Regions from separate parts of the Homo sapiens genome. Here regions 1, 2, 3 and 4 are each linked to region 5. The links are contacts of gene promoters, found by promoter capture Hi-C in blood cells and fetal thymus (Javierre and others, 2016). All regions are on one chromosome and are shown on one strand. The core of a region is centred on a gene start or on the middle of the fragment in contact, and the rest is flanking DNA. Distances in the headings are between cores, read along the strand shown. Region 1 overlaps ATP8A2 (ATPase phospholipid transporting 8A2). Region 2 overlaps ATP8A2 (ATPase phospholipid transporting 8A2). Region 3 overlaps ATP8A2 (ATPase phospholipid transporting 8A2). Region 4 overlaps ATP8A2 (ATPase phospholipid transporting 8A2). Region 5 holds the start of SHISA2 (shisa family member 2).

Evidence for each region. The method cuts DNA at HindIII sites, captures the fragments that hold promoters and counts their contacts. A CHiCAGO score of 5 or more calls a contact.
Region 1: a fragment that was not itself captured here is called in contact with the fragment with the promoter of SHISA2 in region 5 in 7 of 17 cell types (activated CD4 T cells, fetal thymus, naive CD4 T cells and 4 more); the score reaches 11.3 in activated CD4 T cells.
Region 2: a fragment that was not itself captured here is called in contact with the fragment with the promoter of SHISA2 in region 5 in 4 of 17 cell types (activated CD4 T cells, non-activated CD4 T cells, fetal thymus and 1 more); the score reaches 6.6 in activated CD4 T cells.
Region 3: a fragment that was not itself captured here is called in contact with the fragment with the promoter of SHISA2 in region 5 in 6 of 17 cell types (activated CD4 T cells, naive CD4 T cells, total CD4 T cells and 3 more); the score reaches 7.2 in activated CD4 T cells.
Region 4: a contact is called between a fragment that was not itself captured here and the fragment with the promoter of SHISA2 in region 5, in 5 of 17 cell types (activated CD4 T cells, naive CD4 T cells, non-activated CD4 T cells and 2 more). The highest score is 9.2, in activated CD4 T cells.

The regions. Positions count from the first base shown.
Region 1 is chr13:25,729,918-25,733,699 of GRCh38, reverse strand. The region is part of intron 25 of ATP8A2 (ATPase phospholipid transporting 8A2); the gene reads right to left. Among named protein-coding and RNA genes, the nearest start is that of SHISA2, 320 kb to the left of the region's middle. The HindIII fragment of the contact is 1,175 bases long and covers 1,808-2,982 here.
Region 2 is chr13:25,746,358-25,750,500 of GRCh38, reverse strand. The region is part of intron 25 of ATP8A2 (ATPase phospholipid transporting 8A2); the gene reads right to left. Among named protein-coding and RNA genes, the nearest start is that of SHISA2, 300 kb to the left of the region's middle. The HindIII fragment of the contact is 3,796 bases long and covers 1-3,564 here.
Region 3 is chr13:25,791,711-25,795,484 of GRCh38, reverse strand. All of the region lies in intron 27 of ATP8A2 (ATPase phospholipid transporting 8A2), which reads right to left. Among named protein-coding and RNA genes, the nearest start is that of SHISA2, 260 kb to the left of the region's middle. The HindIII fragment of the contact is 3,224 bases long and covers 388-3,611 here.
Region 4 is chr13:25,713,321-25,717,577 of GRCh38, reverse strand. All of the region lies in intron 25 of ATP8A2 (ATPase phospholipid transporting 8A2), which reads right to left. Among named protein-coding and RNA genes, the nearest start is that of SHISA2, 340 kb to the left of the region's middle. The HindIII fragment of the contact is 4,796 bases long and covers 96-4,257 here.
Region 5 is chr13:26,050,766-26,054,899 of GRCh38, reverse strand. SHISA2 (shisa family member 2) reads left to right here and starts at 2,884. Exons shown (of 2, transcript NM_001007538.2): 1 at 2,884-4,134. The coding sequence starts at 3,925. It overlaps LINC00415 (long intergenic non-protein coding RNA 415), which reads left to right. Exons shown (of 2, transcript NR_146971.1): 2 at 2,228-2,624. The HindIII fragment of the contact is 15,847 bases long and covers 1-4,134 here.

The DNA.
Region 1 (3,782 bases), core at 1,146-3,645, 320 kb after region 5:
AGTGATACAATGTTTTCAACTTCTGTATACCACCTGCTTTGGAAAAACTATTAAAATCCAGTATGTGAGAGGGCCGACAAAGCATGAAGAGCAGAATAAATTATAAATGACTAAAATTAAAAGGCAAAGGTTCCTGGTGGAAAGAATACAACTTTAGAGTGCTAATGACAGAGGTTCCCAGTATCTTTTTGTCATTTATGGCCTATTGGACCTTGCAAAAAATGTACACAGAGCACACCATGAAAAATGAAGCACGCATGCACACACAGGTATGGGCATGCCTGTGTATGTATATGCGAACACAAAGTGCCTAAGAGGAAATAACAGTAGTCCCCTTAGGAGAGTGATACCATTAGCGGTTTCTATTTCCTTCACTGTTTTCCAATCCTACAATAAGCGTCTCTTATTCTTACAGTGGGCAGTCAGGGGTGGAAATACCCCTCTTTGCTCAAAAAAATCTGGCTAGGTTTTTTTGACAATATAATTCTTCATGCCATTCTTTATTATGCTATGAAATAACTTCTCTGTTAATCAGAACACCTGCTGTCAGCCAGATTATTTCCTTATTAGTCATTGAAGACTTCCATGACTTCACGACACACAGTTCCCATCTTCTGTAGTATTTCATCATAAAGGCATGTAAAATTGCTATTTAATAGCTTCTTATTCTTAGATACTACCCATTCAGTTTTCTTACTTGTGGGAAAATTACACCACTGAGATATAAGAAAAACTGCAGCCAACTATAATAATTCTACATTTTGGGTGGAAACAAAGGAAGGGTGGGAGTTTTGTACTATATTTTCAATAAATTTCAATAACTTCCAAATGTTTATGCTTTCCAGGTTTATTCACACCTGTGGGACAAAAAAAAAGCAATAATACAGGGTACAACTTTTTTTCAGCAATAGGCTAGTTCTTTTACTGGGATAAATTATATATATTTTTCCTAATTGTTATCCCTTTGAGATCTGGCTGACTGACTCATAAAACACAGAATCCATTCTGTTATCACTTAGCGTGTTAGACCAGCTCAGCTCACAGACAAGCTGAAGTACATCACACAGGACTCAACGGAACTGAAGCACTTCTGGTGAAATACAATCCCACAGAAAAATTACAAAGTCCTTCTTTAAATGATTCACTTCATCAGTTAATATTCTTGGCCATGAATTACATATTAAGAATAAATTCAGGAGATGTTTCATTTATTTATCTGAGGTATTATAATTTAAATAATACATAGAATTTCAGAACAACAACAAATCATAGCTTGGAGCTCACATGGCCACTACCTCGAATATCACCAGCAGGAAACAGAGGACTGCAGTGTGAATGGTTTGCTCCAGGGATTGTAGCTGGTCAGTGACCTCATTGCTACGTGGCCACAAGCCCCATATTCCGAATTCTGGTACAGATTCTTTCCCAACATGCGAGGCTGCTCATCTAGCAAGGATATTGGAGATAACAGCCCAGAAAGCATCATACGTGCCTCCAACTTCCAAACACTGCTTTTTAGGAAAAAGCTGCCTCCTTTTCCTAAACACAGTAGTAAAGCAGGGAAAAGCTCAGCTCTCTGGGCTAGGGAGGGAAAAGCTTGATTTTTCACTAACACAGGGAAGACAGAGCAGTGGGTGGGAGGTGAACAGCACAGAGAATGTGGAGAGGCTGTGAGGGAAAACTCACAATTCAGGGACCCCGGAGTCCTGAAAAAGAGGACACACTGCCCACCTATGGAAGCAGTCTAATTTCCCAGTTTCCATTTATCATCTTCAAATCAACCACTTCCATTTTCAGAGCTTAAGCTTTCGAAGACCTTCAATATGAATGAAATAAATGTGGATGTTAGCAAGACTCTTGCTTAAAAAGAACAAGTTCTGTGCCCTGTTACAATGGATTTTCCTAGTTCTAAGTGACCCATTTGTATTCGTCACCTCATGTGCTTCATTTCTGCGAGTGTTAGTTGGATTCTGCCAGAAATCCCTCTGCTTATTTTTTTAACCAAGAGGGTGTTATATTCCACATTCTGTGAATTTGATTACATCAACAGGCACATTCCACTTACCAATGGGGTGAGGCCTAAATATCGTATATCAGCACTCTAGGATTTAGTACCCTTACCCAGAAAAATGAAAATTTAAGGCTGGACAACATTTACCCCAAATAAAAAGCATTCTTTGGCCAAAAGTGTTTGGGAAGAGAATTGAAAAAATAGCAGGCACGAGAGTTCAATTGGTCAATATTTTAATTGTTATGGCTTTAATCCTTATCTTTATTCCCACCTCTCTCTTTCTTTCTCTTTCTTCCTTTTTCTTCCTCCCTCTTCCTTCCTTCCTCTCTCTCTTTCCTTCTTTCTTCTTTCCCTTTCTCTCTTTCTCTCTCCTTCCGGTCTTTTCTTTCTTTCTCTCTCTCTTTCTTTCTTTTTCTTCCTCCCGCTTCCTTCCTTCCTTCCTTCCTCTCTCTCTCTTTCCTTCTTTCTTCTTTCTCTTTCTCTCTTTCTCTCTCCTTCCGGTCTTTTCTTTCTTTCCTTCCTTCTTTCTCTTTCTTTCTTTTATTTCTCTCTCTCTCTCTCTTTTCTTTTCCCTTTCCCTCTCTCTCTCTTTCTTTCTCCTTTCTTTTCTTTTCCTCCCCTCTCCTTCTTTTTTGCGACCTGGCTGGAGTGTAGTGGGAGGAACATGGCTCACTACAGCTTCAACAACCCAGGTTCAAGTGATCCTCCTGTCTCAGTCTCTCGTGCGGCTGGGACCACAGGTATGTGCCGCCAACCTGGCTAATTTTTTGAGTTTTTGTAGAGACAGGTCTCACTTTGTTTCCCAGGCTGGTCTCCAACTCCTGGTCTCAAGTAATTCTCCTGTCTTGGCCTCCCAAAGTGCTAGGATTACAGGTGTGAGCCACTCATGCCTGGCCTATTCCTTCCTTAAAAAAAATCAAACAATAATAAAAATCTAAGAACTCCTCAAATCCCAGCTTACATAGTAAGCTTTTCCAGAATAAGCAAACTGGGCATGGATTCTACATTTGGCCTTCTTTATGGCAATCACATTTGGTCTATTATACATGAAAAATTATAAAGTAAGAATATAGAATAAAATAAAGAAGCTCAACCACAAAGAGAAATCAGCAATGGATACTACTTGTGAGTGTGACAGATATCATGCCACTTGAAGCTATAAACTCTAAGCAGAGTTGAAGCTACCCTATGAGCTCTAGTTCACATATTTATTACATTTTAGACACCAGAGGTAAAAGCAGGACCAGTGTAATAGAAAGTAGTCCCCACACATAGCTGAAACTGCCAAGCCATGATTCCCTTTTGTTCTTCAAAACAAAAGCCAACTTGATAGAGTTGAAGACATACCTGTCTTAAAGAGACTTTTGCTTTCTAATAATTTTGTTGTTGTTGTTGTTGAGACAGGGTCTCACTCTGTCACTCAGGCGGGAGTGCAGTGGCATGATCACGGCTCACTTGCAGCCTCAACCACCTGAGTTCAGGCAATCCTCCCAACTGAGCCTCCAGAGTAGCTGGAACCACAGGCACACGGCACCATGCCTGGTTAATTTTTTGTATTTTTTGTAGAGATGGGGTTACACCATATTGTTCACGCTGGTCTCAAACTCCTGGGTTCAAGCAATCTGCCCACCTCGGCCTCCAAAGTCCTGGGATTACAGGCATGCACAACTGCGCCAGGCTGCTTTCTAATAAATTAAGTTAGATGTGAACAAAAACAAGCTGGGGAGGTGCAGTATACTACATTCCCTTCTGGCAGAATGCACATTATCAG
Region 2 (4,143 bases), core at 417-2,916, 300 kb after region 5:
TGGAAGCAGGTGGGAGTCAGAATCGGGGGGATAGCTGTGGGGAGGGAGGCTGCTTCAGTGTGGGGGTGGGCACAGTGTATGGCCCAAAACTAGAGACAGATGAGAGTAACCAAGGAAGAGGGGGCACTAGCAGAGGGAAACTGCCCACAGTTAGGGCCCGTGTTCCTGGCTTTGGTAACTACACACAGATGTGTACTATTTTATTTGGTCTCCTGAAAACTCTAGCGACTACTCTGAGAAATGCAGCCTGCTCTGCCTGGGTCAGGAGCTGCTTTCTGGACACCGGCCTGTCTTCCACACGAACTGGACCAGTGACCCTTCAGGGAGGACTTCACCGAAGTTCTCCTTACTGTGGCTTTAGAGGGACACAAATAAGTAAATAAATATTGAGACAATCAGATGATTTCTAAAGATGAACTTGGTTGTTTCGTATACAAACAGGAGCTCACATACATGCAAATAATTCTTCTTCTTCGTTTTTTTGTTTTGTTTTGTTTTATTTTTTAGAGATGTGGTCTTGCTATGTTGCCCAGGCTGGACTCAAACTCCTGGGCTGAAGCAATCCCCCATCTCAGCCTCCTTAGTAGCCAGGACTAGTGGTACGTGCCACCATGCCTGGCCAAATAATTATTTTAAAAACAAACTTAGATGTCAACAATTAGAAACTAAAGAGACAATGTGACAGTTATCATCAGGCATTCATTCTACTCTATAGTGACCAGAATGTCCCATTTTAACTTCCTTTCCAGTTTTAAAGAAAATCGGAAGGAACATGAGTTGGCTGCTGCCTGTCTACACCGCAGCCTTGGTCTGCTCCTAAGGCAAAGCTGTCCCACTCTTTCTTAAATTCCTCCCATCTCCCTTGCCCCAGGAACAGCCTAAGCTCTGTAGCTGCTCACTCAAGGGGCTTTCTGACTGCCCCCACCGAGCACAGCCTCCTGCTCTGACATCGATGTGACAATGCCTGCGTCATGATTCCCTGCTGCCTACACCCCCTCCTCACCCACATTCCCACTGCTCTGCTTTTCTCCAGACAAAACCTGCACCGCAAACTCCCTCGCATCTGGACTCCCCTCGGCTAACTTCAGCTCTATCCTGAAGACCACCTCCAGTGTCGTCTCCTTCCTGGCGGGGTCCTCTGATGCTTCTCCCATCTCCGTCAGGCCCTCCTTCCCCTCTGCCAGCTTCACTTCCCCCTCCTCCACTCTCTTCCCATCAGAATACTCAGCCCATGCCCAGAAATCACCATTTCCAGGCCTGTCTTCCTGGAAGGACTGATTCCTGCAAGGCAAAGGTCTGTTCTCTTCAGCGTCTGCAGTGCCTCCCAAATGCCTGGCCCACCTGCTGCCAAGAGTTAGAAAGTGTCAACTTTTATTTCACGGAAGACAGAAAAACAACCTAAGGATCCACAATTTCATGTTAGTCAAAACTATTCTGCTATCTGCTATCTCAATTGGCATTATAATTTCACTGTCCTCTCACTACAAGCCATGGTGAAGATACACATTTCACCTTTCAAACTTCATAGAAATGTCCACTGATTTTAATCTCCACATACTGTTATTGAAATGCCTATGTGTATATACATGGTGGTGATGGGGGGCACTCTTTACAAATACTAAAAACACTAAAATAAAAAGGAGAAAAAACATTTTGAAAATGCTATAACCCAAACCAGAATAACTGCTAATACAAACAGGCCCCTTCCCAAATGTAAGCGGGTCACAAGTAATGGCTCACCTCAAAGTGGCCGCAGCAACGCTGTTTACTCTCCATTTGGGGCTTAAAAGCATTTTAGTTGATGAACAGGCCCTGAAGCAGAAACATCTAAACCCATGCTAATGCCCAGCAGAGCAGTAACTTCTTTTGATTAATTTACCAGCACTGAAAGCACAAGAAAGAGATCAAACCGCGTTCTGCACTAAACAATTAAACAAGCAGCCATGCCTCCAGTATGGTGTGCATCAGGATGAAAGCTGGATGGGGTCGAATGAAAAAGCAACAAATATCTTACATTGATTAATGCTTATAAAATTTTTTCCCCTTAAATGTCATAACATGTCATTCAATGCTCGAACCAAAGAGCTTATGTAACATTTAAAACAAAAAAAGAGTTCCAAAAGCCTAAGAAAATTCAGATGTGTCCTGAGGAGAAAAATCAGGTCATTCCAAACACTTCTAAAGAACATTCAAAATACTTTGGCAGAACTCTGACCAATTTGCTGAAATATCTTCAACATGAAACAGCATGGGGGGAAAATCCTATCATCTCCTTTCATCGAAAAATAATTTTTCTGCTATGAGTGAAATTGTTCTTAATTTAAACTAGCCCATTCACAATGTCCAATACTATCTATATACACTGTTTTGGAAACCCAGAGCTTAAACAAATATGATGATACAAATATATCTCTACTTAGTAATTTTTTTCTCAAATTGGAATTTAAACCATATGGTGATTCCTAAATCAGAATGAACTACAAATGTCAGTAGTTAACCCTTATAGATTTTCTGAATGATTGGCTGAATGAATTTTTAAAACCCAATAAATGTCTTTGTAATAAAACAAAACTTATATACTTGTAGAAAAATATCTGAACAAAGCCAGCTAAAAACGTCAGCTTAGGAAAGTCAAACTTGGTGCATTTTACATCCCTGAAGAACATTTCTTGGTGATTCAATGTTATTTTAGTCAATGTGTTGGCATGTCTTTGGGCTACTCACTGCAACTCTGTCCTAATCTGTAAAATGGAGCTGATCCATACTTCGGGGGATTTTAAAGGTTAAATGAAATTGTTATCTATAAAGCACACATCCTGACATCCTGAAATTCTTCCCTAAACAAACCCCTCCCCACGCATTGTATCCCCAGGCGATGCTAAACCCCTTGCAGAGCTTTTGGTCTACTTAAGCACACCTCCACGTGTCTAACCCCTCCTCCATGACTGAGCTTACCTCCTCCACTCCAGCACGTACTGTTCTGTAAGAGTTATCAGGTATGTGGAAGACATGAAACAAACATGAATAAAAGGACCCACAGGATACCTTTTGCTACATCTGCCAAACAGTTCGAATTGAAGCCCTTTATATTTTCAAACTCTTATGTGGAAAGACCACAAAAATTTGGAAATGCGACACTGAAAACTGACTTCGCTACTAACCTTCCCACAATACTGTCCTCCTTATGAAGATGAGAGCCCAAGGAGCACGGCAGATGAGGCCTGTTTGCCTGCTCAAGCGCTATGGCTCTAACAGGCACGAATCCTCTATTATTGCTACTGAATAAATAAATGAATTGTAGCTAAGGTAGACCTAAGTTTCTACTGATCCCTCCTTCCAGTTTTCTTATATGTATACAGGAAAACAAAAATTTGCTATTTTAGATCTTTCCAAAGACAGTGACACCCTCCCTTAGAAAATAATTTAAAAACCCTTGGATGAGGTCAGGAAACACAAGGAAAAGGAGCTCTCACTTTGCAGAGGAAGCAGAGGCTCGCAGGACAGAACGACCATAGGCTCTGTGTTTCCCCACAATGGAGGGAAACATATCCTATCTAAGAAGCTTTGATCATGGGGATATTTTGAAAGCACGGGCCAAAAAGATGGAGATAATCTAGCACAATGTTTAACATAAAATTAAGAATGACCTATGAATTATTCCACACTGATTTTGACTCTGGTTATAAAAATTGGCTTTCACTCTGACCTGTTTATATGGTTCAGTCTTCAATGCACTTTTCTCTAAACACTTCAGCTGGAATCAACAGATTTTTAGCTCTTGAGACGAGGCATTGTTATTGCTGCTGGGGCATGAATAACGTCCGTCCAGGGAAGAGAAGGTGCTGGTCCAGTTTCCTTTCAGTGTGGGATCACCAGCTTTCCCACAAATGAGCAGGAAACATAATAGACTCAACCTGGGTTAATTGTTTTCTAACTCTAAGGCACTTTCACAAACATTTGAACCTACTATACAGAGTAACCTCAAATATTTACCTACAAAAACACCATTACATACATAGAAAGGACCATAGAAGTCCTTCCAGGTTCAAATTCAAATTCTTTAATCAGCTTCATTCTGCAGAACTTTATTTGCCTACGTGCTAGACTCACTGTTCTCATTTCCCAAGTTAAATATCCAATGAG
Region 3 (3,774 bases), core at 750-3,249, 260 kb after region 5:
ATGTCAATGTGCTGACAATCTGTCATCCTAAAGAAATTTCTTCAGCTGTCATTGAGTGCCATGGAAAAGAAATCGACCAAATATGCTAAACATGGGCACAGAAGGTCTTTGCACTTGTGAATTATGATTTATTATTTACTATAATATTCATATTTAAAAGTTAATGTAATGTATAGAAACATAAGCATTTTAAATATCTTCTTAAAACTCAAAAATAGTGAGGGATATGAAGCTCTGACAGCCGAGTGAAAATCCCTCCCTGCCCCAGCACATTTGAACCATCTAACCTCTCAGGAATGAGAAAATTGAATGCAAGAAAATTCCCTGCTACTATTCACATATGCATATATAAAGTACAACTTTTCCAGTCTTAAAGGAGACTAAGCTTTAGTTTTTTTCCAACTGTTCCCTGGTTTATAATGCATAGAATTAATATCTTGATCACAGTCCTGTTTCTTGAATCAAAACTCAGTCATGGATGGCTGGATCACTCTCGGGAGGCTGAGCTACCGAGATTACAAACAAGAGGCTGACACTTGTGCATGAGCTGGACATCCTATAAATCCCATAAAAATGATTACAAGAAAATATGAGATGGTGGGGGCAGGCAGAGAGAGAGAGAAGGTGTGTGTGTGTGTGTGTGTGTGTGTGTGTGTGTGTGTGTAGGAGAGGGAATGCGTTGGGGCAGAATTTCAATATCAATAAAAGACCTTTCTGATAGATGTTATCCTTGGCCTGATTCAAATACCAAGAAGCAATTACTGGAATATATATATCTGTTTCTTATTTATTTTTAGATATAGTTTGCATACAATAATTATTCATCCTTTTTAATGTACAGTTGTGAGTTTTGATAACTGCGCACCCTTGTGTAACCACCATAATCAAGACACCGAGTATTTCTGTCACTCTCCCAAACCCTTTGTGCTCCTTTGTAGTCACCCTTTTCCTCCACCCAAAGACCCTGGAAACCACAGATCTAATTTTGGTCCCCACAGTTTTTGTCTTTTTCAGAATGTCAAATAAGTGGAATCATGCATTTATACAAAATCATACGAAAGGGTGTCATTTTTGAGTCTGGGTTCTTTCATGTAGCACAATGCATTTGCACAGCAAAGCACTGTATTCTGTGTATTGCTCCTTTTTGTTGCTAAGTAATATTCCACTGCATAGGTATACTGCACAGTTATCCACTTCTCAGTCAAGGGACATATAGGTTGTTTCTAGTATTTGGTAAGTAGAAATAAAGCCACCGTAAGGTTTTACCAAGGCAGCTGCACCATTCTGAATTCCCACCTCTTCTTTCTTCAAGATGGAAAACATGCTGCTCATGGCCATCAGGCCAGCTCTAAACTCACAAACTCCTTGAGAGCCTCTGTCCTCCCTCTGTCTTCTCCCCATCTCAAAAACAAACCAACCAAGTACGAAAAATATACAGAAGTTTGAAAGAGGTAGGGATGATGTATTGATGACGATTACCTCCTTCTCCCCCATGTCTGTGCTCTTCAAAATGGCTTAAACCATTCTCCAGGGCCTTCTGGTCATGTGCAACTGGATGAACAGGGCACACGTCTTCAAATGACAATCTCAGCTAAAGAACTGGGGTGGGGAATTGTTTTTAAAAGTAAAAAGATTCAAAATGTGGTCACCTGAGTACACTCATGACATCAGAAAAATCCTGAATTTCAACATAAGCTCATACCAGTGGCCTTCACCGTGACATATTAGATAGCAAAGGATTTCTCTGCTATCTCGTTAATGGCTAACACAAAATGTCTTTGCTATTACCAACAACAGTTTTTTCCAGTAAAGATAAAAAAAAACACTAAGTCTCCCCTGAGAAAGCCTGATAGTACATGTAGTATTTGTATGTATGTACTTGTGTACATACAATTATACACATATATGTGCACACATATGTACTTCTACATACATGTGTGTATAATACACATACACACATTTGCACAATATAAAGATAAAATATAGACAACCCATGGCATTAAACATAGCGTATAGGAGAATTTTGCCTAATCTAGATAAATAAAATTTTCATCTCTATGCTTGTTACCATGTCATGTAGAAATGGCTGGGCAGGTTTTCATAAAATATTTGGGGTGACCCGACTTAATATAAAGTCTATGTAGTACTCTTGTAATTTACTCTGAAAACCTCTAGGCAATAACTCAGAGAATCAGGCATTCTCCAGAGCAATTAAAACAGGTATGTGAAAAAGTCTTTGTACTGATGGTCACTTGATCACTTTATGCAGGCAACGAAGACAGTTTCAAATATTAACTCAAAATTGAAAGTCACAAGGCAGATGTTGGAATTGCAAGCACTGCTGTGAAAATCCCTTTGTTTCTCTGAACTTTTTACAGTCAGTGTGGGAAAAGGTACCACTCCTATGAAACAATTCCAAAGTTTTGCTCTTCTCTTCTCTTCTCTTCTCCTCTCTTCTCCTCTCTTCTCTCCTGCCCTCCCCTCTCTCCCCTATCCCTCCTCTCCTCTCCTCCCCTCTCCTTCCTTCCTTCTTTCCTTCCTTTCTTCTTTCTCTCTCTCTCTTTTTCTTTTCTTTTTTTTGAGACAGGGTCTCATTGTTGTGCTGTGATCATAGCTCACTGCAGCCTCGACCTCATGAGCTTAATCAGTCTTCCTGCCTCAGCCTCCCAAGGAGCTAGCTAGGACTACAGGCCCATACCACCACCCCCGGCTATTTTTTTTCTTTCTTTTAGTTTTTGTAGAGATGAGGTCTCACTTTGTTGCCAACACTGCTCTTGAACGCCTAGGCTGAAGCAATCCTCCTGCCTCAGCCTCCCAAAGAGCTGGGATTACAGGTGTGAGCCACTGTGTCTGGGCCCAAAGTATTTCCTAACCCTTCTAACTAGATCATAAATTCCCTCAAGGACCATAATTACATTTTTTGTTCATTTCATTAGTTTCAAAGCAATCAGGAAAGTGGTAGTCGGTAAATAATACATACTTAGTGAGTCTCTATTAATTATCTAACCACTAACTGGCCAAGGCACTTGACCTAGGCCTTGAAGAGCACAGCAGCCCACACAGAAGCACACAGATAGGCTTGATGAGACATATTAAAGACAACTAACCACCTGCAGAAAGTGTTTTCTGTTTGTGGCTAAACACTGTTCGGTCAGTTACATATGGATGACAAAACCTGCTGCTGAGAGGAAATAAGCAGGATTATTTTATTGTTTGCATCTGGGCTGCCAAAAAATGAAAGCCTTTATACTTGAATTGCACACTAAATGTATACAGATCATAACCAGAGTCTGATATCGGTACATTGTTTACATGAAGTTTTTGATTAGCAACTTTTGCAGCTCAAGGGAGATGGTTAACTTATTTTATTTCCTTTTCTGGTTCTTAAAATGGAGTTATTAGCCATACTCACGGACACAAATAGAATTCTACACACTGCTCTAAAAAGTTTTTAATTTAAGCAATTTAGGTTCTGGTACATCAAAATCAACACTAAAATGATTTTTGCTTTATTTCTGCAAATAGAAGGTGGCTAGGTTAGCTTTTAGGGTAGGTTTCTCTTGCAAGTCTCCCACAAAAAAAGGTGAGCATATACGAAATTTATCTAAGCTTTATAGATTGAAAATATACTCAGCAGCAAGAAGGAAACAAGGGTCTAGTAAAATGTATTTTCCATCTTCGGATCAACAAATATTAACACTAATGGGCTGGAACATGTCATTGTTGCTTGTTCTTATGGTAAAGAGCTCCACAGAAGGCAAATTTTAAGAGTGT
Region 4 (4,257 bases), core at 1,244-3,743, 340 kb after region 5:
GTAAAAGAAGTACATTAAAGTAGCACATGGCACCACCACTTACCCAGTTTCATAGTTTTGTGATCTAGGGTAAGTGACTTGACCTCCCCTAAGCTTTGGTTTTGTCTGCTGCTGCTGGTAGTGGTAGTGCCTACCTTGGTGTTTTTTTTTTTTTTTTTTAGTTTTTTCAGGATCATATGGAATAATGCCTGGACAGAGCTCAATAGAGAGCCTAACCCATTCTCAGCACTCAATGGCTATCATAACTACCAAAATCCCAAATCCCTGATCCCATTCTCAATAGCTCCTTCTTCCTTACTATTACCTTTCATATGTGACTACAAATCCTCCCAATTTTACATCTAGACCACCCTCAAATCTCTTCATTTCTCTTCACCTCTGTAATCCATGCTACCATAATCTGATGAATGAATGAACGAATGAACAAGCGGCCATTCTTTCAGACAGTCACTCTGGCAATGCTGCCAGCAGGTGGATATGCACATTAAGTGAAGACTCACTGGTGATAGTGGCATGTATAGGCAGCAATGATTAAAGTCACCTTTCTTTCCAGAAAGAGTATTTTCCTAACTCCACTCTAGCCAACCTGCCTCTGAGTCGGTATGTTTGGCCCTTTGAAATTAAAGGAAAAAACTAAATAAGCAATTCATGCTTTATATATTCAGTAGTCCTATAACTTATACACTGCACATCACTGTTTCTTCTCTCACAACTTGTCATCACTGCATTTGCTTCTTTTTCCTCTTTCCTGTTAGGTTTGTATCCCTCATCCTCAGTGCCAGAATGTAAGCTCCATGAGGCCAGGGCTATGTCTGACTTGTTTATGATCATAGTTCCAGTGCCTGGAACAATGTTTTACACGTAATAAGAGCTACATAAATATTTTTCAAATTGATCTCCCCACTTCTATTCTCATCGCTACTCCTTTAAACCCTTCACACCCTGCTGACAGTGATCTTTTAAAAATATACATCTGGCCAAGACCACTCAAAAAGGAAAAGACTGTCTCTTCAACAAATGGTGCTGGAAAAACTGAATATCCATGTGCAAAAGCATGAAACTGGACCTTTATCTTGTAACATATACAAAAACTAACTAAAAGGAGATGAAAGACTACAGGTAAGAGCCAAGCTATAAAACTTGTAAGGGAAAACATAGGAGTAAATCTTCATGATCTCAGATTAGACAATGGCTTCTTAGATATGACCCCATAAGCAACAACAAAAAAAAGTAGATAAACTGGGCTTCATCAAAATTTAAAATTTCTGTGCTACAAACAATACCATCAAGTGAAAAGACAGCCCAATGAATTAGAAAAAATTTTTTGCAAATCATGTATCTGATAAGATACTGACATTAAGACTATATAAAGAATTGCTACAACTCAGTGATAAAAGACAAGCAACCCAATTTAAAAACGGGCAAAGGATTTGAACAGATATTTCCCAAGGAAGATATTCTGGTTATTTGTAGCTAACAAACACATGAAAAGTTGTTCAACATCTTTAATCATCAGGGAAATGCAAATCAAAACCACAGTGAAATACCACTTTATACCCACTAGGATGGCTATGACTTAAAAAAGGAAAGTTTTGGCAAGGATGTGGTGGAACTGGGACCCTCACACATTGCTAGTGGAAATGTATGGGGTGTAATGTATGAAATGTAAAGTGGTGTAGCCACTTAGAAAAACAGTCTGGCAGTTCTGTTTTAGAAGGTTAACCATAGAGTGACCATATACCCCAGCAATTCCACTCCTAGGTATATACCCAAGAGAAATGAAAACATATGTCCACACAAAAATTTGTAGATGAATGTTTATAGAAGTATAATTCATAGTAGCCAAGAAGTAAAAACAACCTAACTATCCGCCAAGTGATGAATAAACTACATGTGATATATCTATACAATGAAATATTTTTTGGCAATAAAAAGAATTGAAATGCTACGACATGAATGACCCTTTGAAGACTTTACAGTAAGTGGGAAAAGCCAGTTGCAAAGCAATGTCCAGAACAGGTAAATCTATAGAGACAGAAAGTAAATAAGTGGTTGCCTTGGGCTGGGGAACTGGAGAGACATTGGGAATGACTAATTGGTACAGGGTTTCTTTTTGGGGATGATGAAATGTTCTAAAATGGAATGTAGTAGTGATAGTTATACTGCTGTATGAGTATACTAATTTGATTGAATTGTATACTTCAAATGTGTGAATTACATGGTATGCTAATATTTCAATAAAGCTGTTATTTTAAAAATACAAATCTGACCACATCATTCCTTTGCTAAAATTTTTCAAAGGTTTCACATTGCACTGAGGAGCAAGTCCAAGTTCCAATGAGACTTGCAGACCTGGGTGATTCGGCCCCAGTTTTCTCCTCCAGCCTCATCTTGCACTACTCCCAACACAACACATACACATAGTAGTTGCTCAATAGACACTAACCTAATGAACTGATTTTACAATAGACTTCAACAGTATTAGCTGTCAATGAAGCCAACTTCACCCTTCATAAGTGGCATGAGAATGGGAAAGCAAATACTAAGGTATATAACTTTCAAATGAAGCATTTATCCAAACTTCTTCATACATATTTTTTTCTATTTCTAGTGTCCAAGCAGAGATCTTAAGAGCACCCTGCACTCAGTACATGCTAACTTGGATACATAAGGCTCCTTGGTTCCTCCAAGAGACTTTTGCATTCTCTTACATGGGTATCTATTTCCTACAAGTAGATAGCCAAGAACATGGAGATAAAAGTAGCTAAGCAGGTGCCCTGCATTGGACAAATAACCAAAGGAGAAAAAAGTTGACCCTGACACCCTAAACATTTTCCATAGTTACAATCACCACTGTTCTCAGCATAACTTCAGCAACTGTCATGAGAAGGGAGTAGGCTGCCTCCAAGAAAGTGAAGGTTTGGTTAGCCTATCACATCATTCATTCATTCACCAATATTTATTGAGTGTTCATTACGTGTCTCGTGTCATTTCCAGTGCTGAGGATGGAAGAGAAGGCTAAGGAGACACAATCTCTGCTCTAATGAAACAAACATTCTGTTGGGTGGAGACAGATTATCAATAATTAGGCAAAAGTATAATAGTATGTCAGGTAGTGGTAAATGCTATCAAGCAAAATAAAGCTATGGAAAGTGGCACTAACAGAGCCAGAGTACTCAAGGTACCCTGCCTTGAGCTGAGAGGGTGACATTTGAGCAAAGACCTGAATCAGGTGAGTTTGCCATGTGTCAGTGGGGCAAAATCCTGTTATAGTCCTGGGGCAAAGCCTGCTTTGAGAGCCAAAGGAACAGAAAGGAGTCCAATGTGGCCGGGACACAGAAAGCAAGGGAGAAGCAGCATCCCACTAGGTTTTTAAATTTAATTCTGAGAGGTCACCAGAAGGTTTTCTTCCTTTCTTCCTTCCCTCCCTCCTTCCTTCCTTCCTTCCTTCCTTTCTTTCTTTTAGCAGAGGGATACAGCTTCTTTTTGAACACCAAACTCTGGGTTAATCAAAGCTGATAGTTAAGGATAGCCACAGAAATCTATATCAGCCTACAGCATTAGAGAAGCTAATAAATTTAAGAATTCAACGTACCTAAGATCAAAGGCATCTAATTGCTGAAATACAAGAGACCAAGCATCTAATTCATAACTGTACAGTCTACGTAATTTTTACTGGCCAGCTCTTCTCCCAGGCCCTGAGTCTCACAGAGGCAGGGGTTGTGCTGGGCTGTGCTGATCTTGTCCACCACGGTAGCTGCTAGCTACCCTGGGGAGCTGCTAGCTCCCCAGGACCCAGAACATGGCACGTTGTTTGTCAGGAAACATATTTGCGACACATATGCTCAATATTCATTCAGCACACACACAGATGGATTTCAAAGTCATCTCAAGAACACGAAGTGACCTGCATTTGAAATAATCCTTAGGAGACTTGTGAATTGACTAGAATCGCCTCAGAAAAAAGTACTAAGTTATAAACAACAAAAACTTATGAATCACTAACTACTAGATTCAAGAAAGACTTTTCTAGACTCCTGACTGAGAATCTCGGTACAAGGCAATGAGAGCTTTCTGGTTTTTTCCTGCAGAACGTCTACATGAAAGCTGTAGCACCAAAAATAATGCTGATTGGCTGCAGGGTTTTGAAAAGTGGGCTAATATAAATTTGTTCTAAATCAATATCCTTTCATGCACACATAAAAGCAAGTTTGAAGAGCATAATGCATATAAACTGGTGAAAAATTCTAAATCAAT
Region 5 (4,134 bases), core at 1,635-4,134:
TTAAATCAATTGGATTTTATTCATATATATATTTATATATATATGCACAGGCACATACTGAAAGGCAAAATAACTTGAAAATATACTTTTTCAGTTAGTGACTATAGAATTCAACTTTTTTAAAAAGAGGGCTGCACTCTTTCATATGTTTTTCAATATATTTTGGCAGACTGCCTAACATTTCATTTTGATTATCATAAATTATGATTACTACTACCTATATGTTGTAATTACTAGTTATAGCTTCTCAGAAGAAACGAGTGAAATAGTTTTGGTTGTCTGTTAAGACCAATGAGGGAATTTCTTTTTATTTCCTATGGAAGGAACAAGCCTATTTTAATATCTCCCAGTGGCACCTCCCATGCAGAACCTCACTAAATACTTGGCAAGTTATTTTATAAAATTTCAGTTCAACATTCCAGATACACAAAGAAACGATAATACAAGAGAGACAAAGTGACATAAAGGACCTTTCAGCATTGAAGACAGTCAACCACTACGTAAAGTAACTATGAAAGGGCCTCTCCTTAACTTTTAAGGAAGAAAAGAAACACAGTAATTAAAAAAAAAAAAAAAGACGAATTTGCTCAGAGCGCCATACTTCTAAGTTCACCAATTATAGATTAAATTGTAGACTATTTGGCAAAAACATTGTGTTTTAAAGGTGGCACTATCCAGTCACCAAATCAATTCCAATATGAAATGTTAAACAATTTTTTTTCTTCATAAATAAACTCTGACAAATTGTGGATGTTTTGGTGAGTAGGATAAGTGGATCCTGGAAGGAGGTTATAGGCATAGGTACTGTCTGAAATAATACAATTCTAAATAGAACAATAAGTACAATTCTCTCGCATTAATTGTTTTTCCAAATGGCAAAATTGAAAGTATTCACCCTCTGAACACTACCCAAATCAACTCGTGCTGCCATAGGAGCATCTCATGATCTGTACAGGACTCCCAGTTAATCAATCCTGGGCTTTCTGTAGTGGCGGCTGTGGTGATCAGCAGTGCGGTGAGTGGGGTTTGGAGTCAGGAAGAATTGGGTGCAGTCCAGGCAAACCGACGCTCTCTATCTTTAGGGATTGAGCAAGTATCCTCACCAGTAAAATGAGGATAGTAATACTGTCTTATTTATAGGGCTGATGTGAGGATTAAATGAAACCATGCACATGAAATTCTTAGCGTGGTGCCTAGCCCATAGTAAGCTCTCAATAAATGTTGGCTAATGGTGTCTTCTAAGAAAATGACTCATTCTGAAAAACTCAATCTTCCCTTGGCTTCTTCTGGTCTCTTTTTAAGTGTTACTCCTTTGATGATTTTTCTGACCTCCTTCCCCACCCTAACCTAGATTATGTGCTTAAATTGATGCTGTTCTCATTGTGGGTAAGAGCTTTGATCATACTTGCATTCTCTTTGCTTATTCAGTTCTTTGTCTTTTTGTCTGATTTCTGTATTTTACCCTGGAGACTTTAGGCCCTATTTGAAGGAAATGGCCATGCTGTCTGGCTTCTTGATGAGTCCCAGTACCCAGCACAGAGCACAGTACACTGTAAGTGCATGGCGTGTATTTCTTGAATGAATGATTTCTTGACATTGAAATTTTTTTTAGCTTACTAGCTTAAGACATTTGGTGAATAGTGCATTTAAAGTATATAATTTTGTGTAGCTTAAAACGATACACAACCAAAAAACTGCAAGAAAACAAAGTGCAATGCTTGGAGAGAGGTTTAGTGAAAAGAATAAGGTGTGTGTTGGGGAGCAGGGACATAGGGTAGGGTTTTTTTTCTTGGATTTGACATTGTTGGGGCAAGTGGAAGAATAATCAACAATGTCTGAATCTTCACATTAACCAGGCATACACAAGCATCCAATGGCTGCTTGAACCTGAGTGTCTTTGCTGTGAATAAAACTGCCTGTGTTCTGAAGTCATGGACTTGAAAGGGACCTTAGTGATCGTCACATCCTATGCTCCACTTTATAGATGAAGAAACTGAGACCAGAAAAACGCAGTGATTCCCTGCTAGTAGGGCTGGGTCTAGAATTCAGGTCTGCTGACTCCCAGACGGTGTGGGAAGGGGCATTCGTTCCTTTAAAAATAAGCACTGCTGCTTTAATAACATCAGCACCTGTTGTTCCAGCTTCTGCAAGAGAGAAGCTATTAATTTCTCCTTCATCAAAGCTGAATTTCTGGTCTGTCTGAACCTTGTTTTCTTCCTGACTGCAGCTGTCTAAACCACTAAGGCCACATGTTGGACGGAGGCACTTTCCTGCTGGAATCCGATAAATCACCACACCCAAATATAGAAAGAAAAAGGGACACAGATCATCCACACCGTGGCCGAATGTGTGACATCTTTGCTGAACTCTCTCCGTTCCACCTTGTGGTGGAGGCCTCCAGTCCACCAAACACAGCCCTAGGCGTGTGAACCCTGCCACAAACATCGGTGCTCTTCCTGCACAGGGCCTGGGACCAACCGTGGCCAGGACATCAGCTGCTGGAAGCCGAGAGAGTTCATCTGAGTGGCGATTTTATGATCTGCAGAGTGGAAAGTAATCATAATCCCTTGAGAAGTTTGCAGAATCGAACCGAATGTTGAATGCCAAAGATCTTCACAAAGCAAGTTGAGTTTCTTCCGTTATTATTGTTATTTGTGTTAGCGAGGCCTGGATTGCTTAGGTTGGGTTTCCTCCCGCGCCTATTCCAGCAGGCAGACCCCGCCCTTGGCCACACCTTTCTCCTTGCCCGGGGTAGGAAAGTGAGGGGCTGCCCGGCGCCCGCGGGCGTCCCTGAGGTCGGGGGTGGGGGGGAGCCGCGCAGCGCGCATGCGCGCCGGGGAGCCGCCGGCCTCTATAAGAGCGCGGCTCAGCGCGGCAGCGAGCGGAGTCGGAGCTGGTCTGGCGCCGGGCGGGGCGAGGCGAGGCTGTGGGCGGCTGCTGCGCTCGGCTTCTCCCGTAGCCCGGAGGAAAGAAACTTCCGTGGGAGGCTTCCATCGGTGCGCACACCTCCCGAGGGCGAGGCAGCGACCGGGAGAGGGAGAGCCGGCCGGAGGCTGCCGGGCTCCTGTGGGACCGCGCTGCAGCCGGGGAGGCGGAGAAGGGGAACCGGGGCGAGCCGCCCGCCTGGATCCGCGCCCAGCAGCAGCCGCGGCCGCCGCCAGCTGGGCAGGCTCCCGGGACTGCGGCTGGGGGCGCGCAGGACCCTCGCCTGCGTCCTGGACGTTCCCGGGGTCAGGAGCGCTCCCTCGGCGACGTGCTGGGAAGATTGGCCGTCGGCCCCGCCGAGTGGAGCGTCGGGGCTGCACCCCCGTGGGCTGCCCGGGCGGCCCGGCCGGAGCCATGCGGACCAAGTTCGGGGCAGAGGAGGCTGAGCGCGGCCGGCTGCGTCACTTGCTGCCCAGAGCCTTGCGTGCACTGCCCGCCTTCGCCCCTTCTACCCGCCCGAGGAGGGAATAAAGGAGGGGAGACGGGCCCTGATTCGCGCGCGGGACCCTGAGGCTTAAACCCTGCGCAGAGCCCTGGCTCCAGGTCCGCGGCGGCGCGCCCAGCGGTCATTCGGCTCGAGTGAGCATCCCTTCGGGGATGCTCAGGGAGGGTCCGGTTGCCAGTGAAACCTCCAGAGGCTTCCGGACGACAGCCCCGGGGGCCTTCTGACTGCATCCCGAGATTTCCATCAGCGAGTGCAACTCATAAGGCAGTCCCTAAGGGGACCGGGCCACCGGCTGAGGACGGGGATGGCTTAGGAGCTCCTGGACCTAGGGCCCGGCGTCGTCGCCTCCTGGGCGTCGCGGCAGAGGGGAGTGGCCCGCGCGGAAAGCGCCGCGGGACAGTCAGTGACGAGGCCCGGGGGTCGCCGGGGCCACGACTTCTCGGAGACCGTCCTGCGCTCTCTGGAGACGCGCTGTCCGCGCCCAGGGTGGTGCCATGTGGGGCGCTCGCCGCTCGTCCGTCTCCTCATCCTGGAACGCCGCTTCGCTCCTGCAGCTGCTGCTGGCTGCGCTGCTGGCGGCGGGGGCGAGGGCCAGCGGCGAGTACTGCCACGGCTGGCTGGACGCGCAGGGCGTCTGGCGCATCGGCTTCCAGTGTCCCGAGCGCTTCGACGGCGGCGACGCCACCATCTGCTGCGGCAGCTGC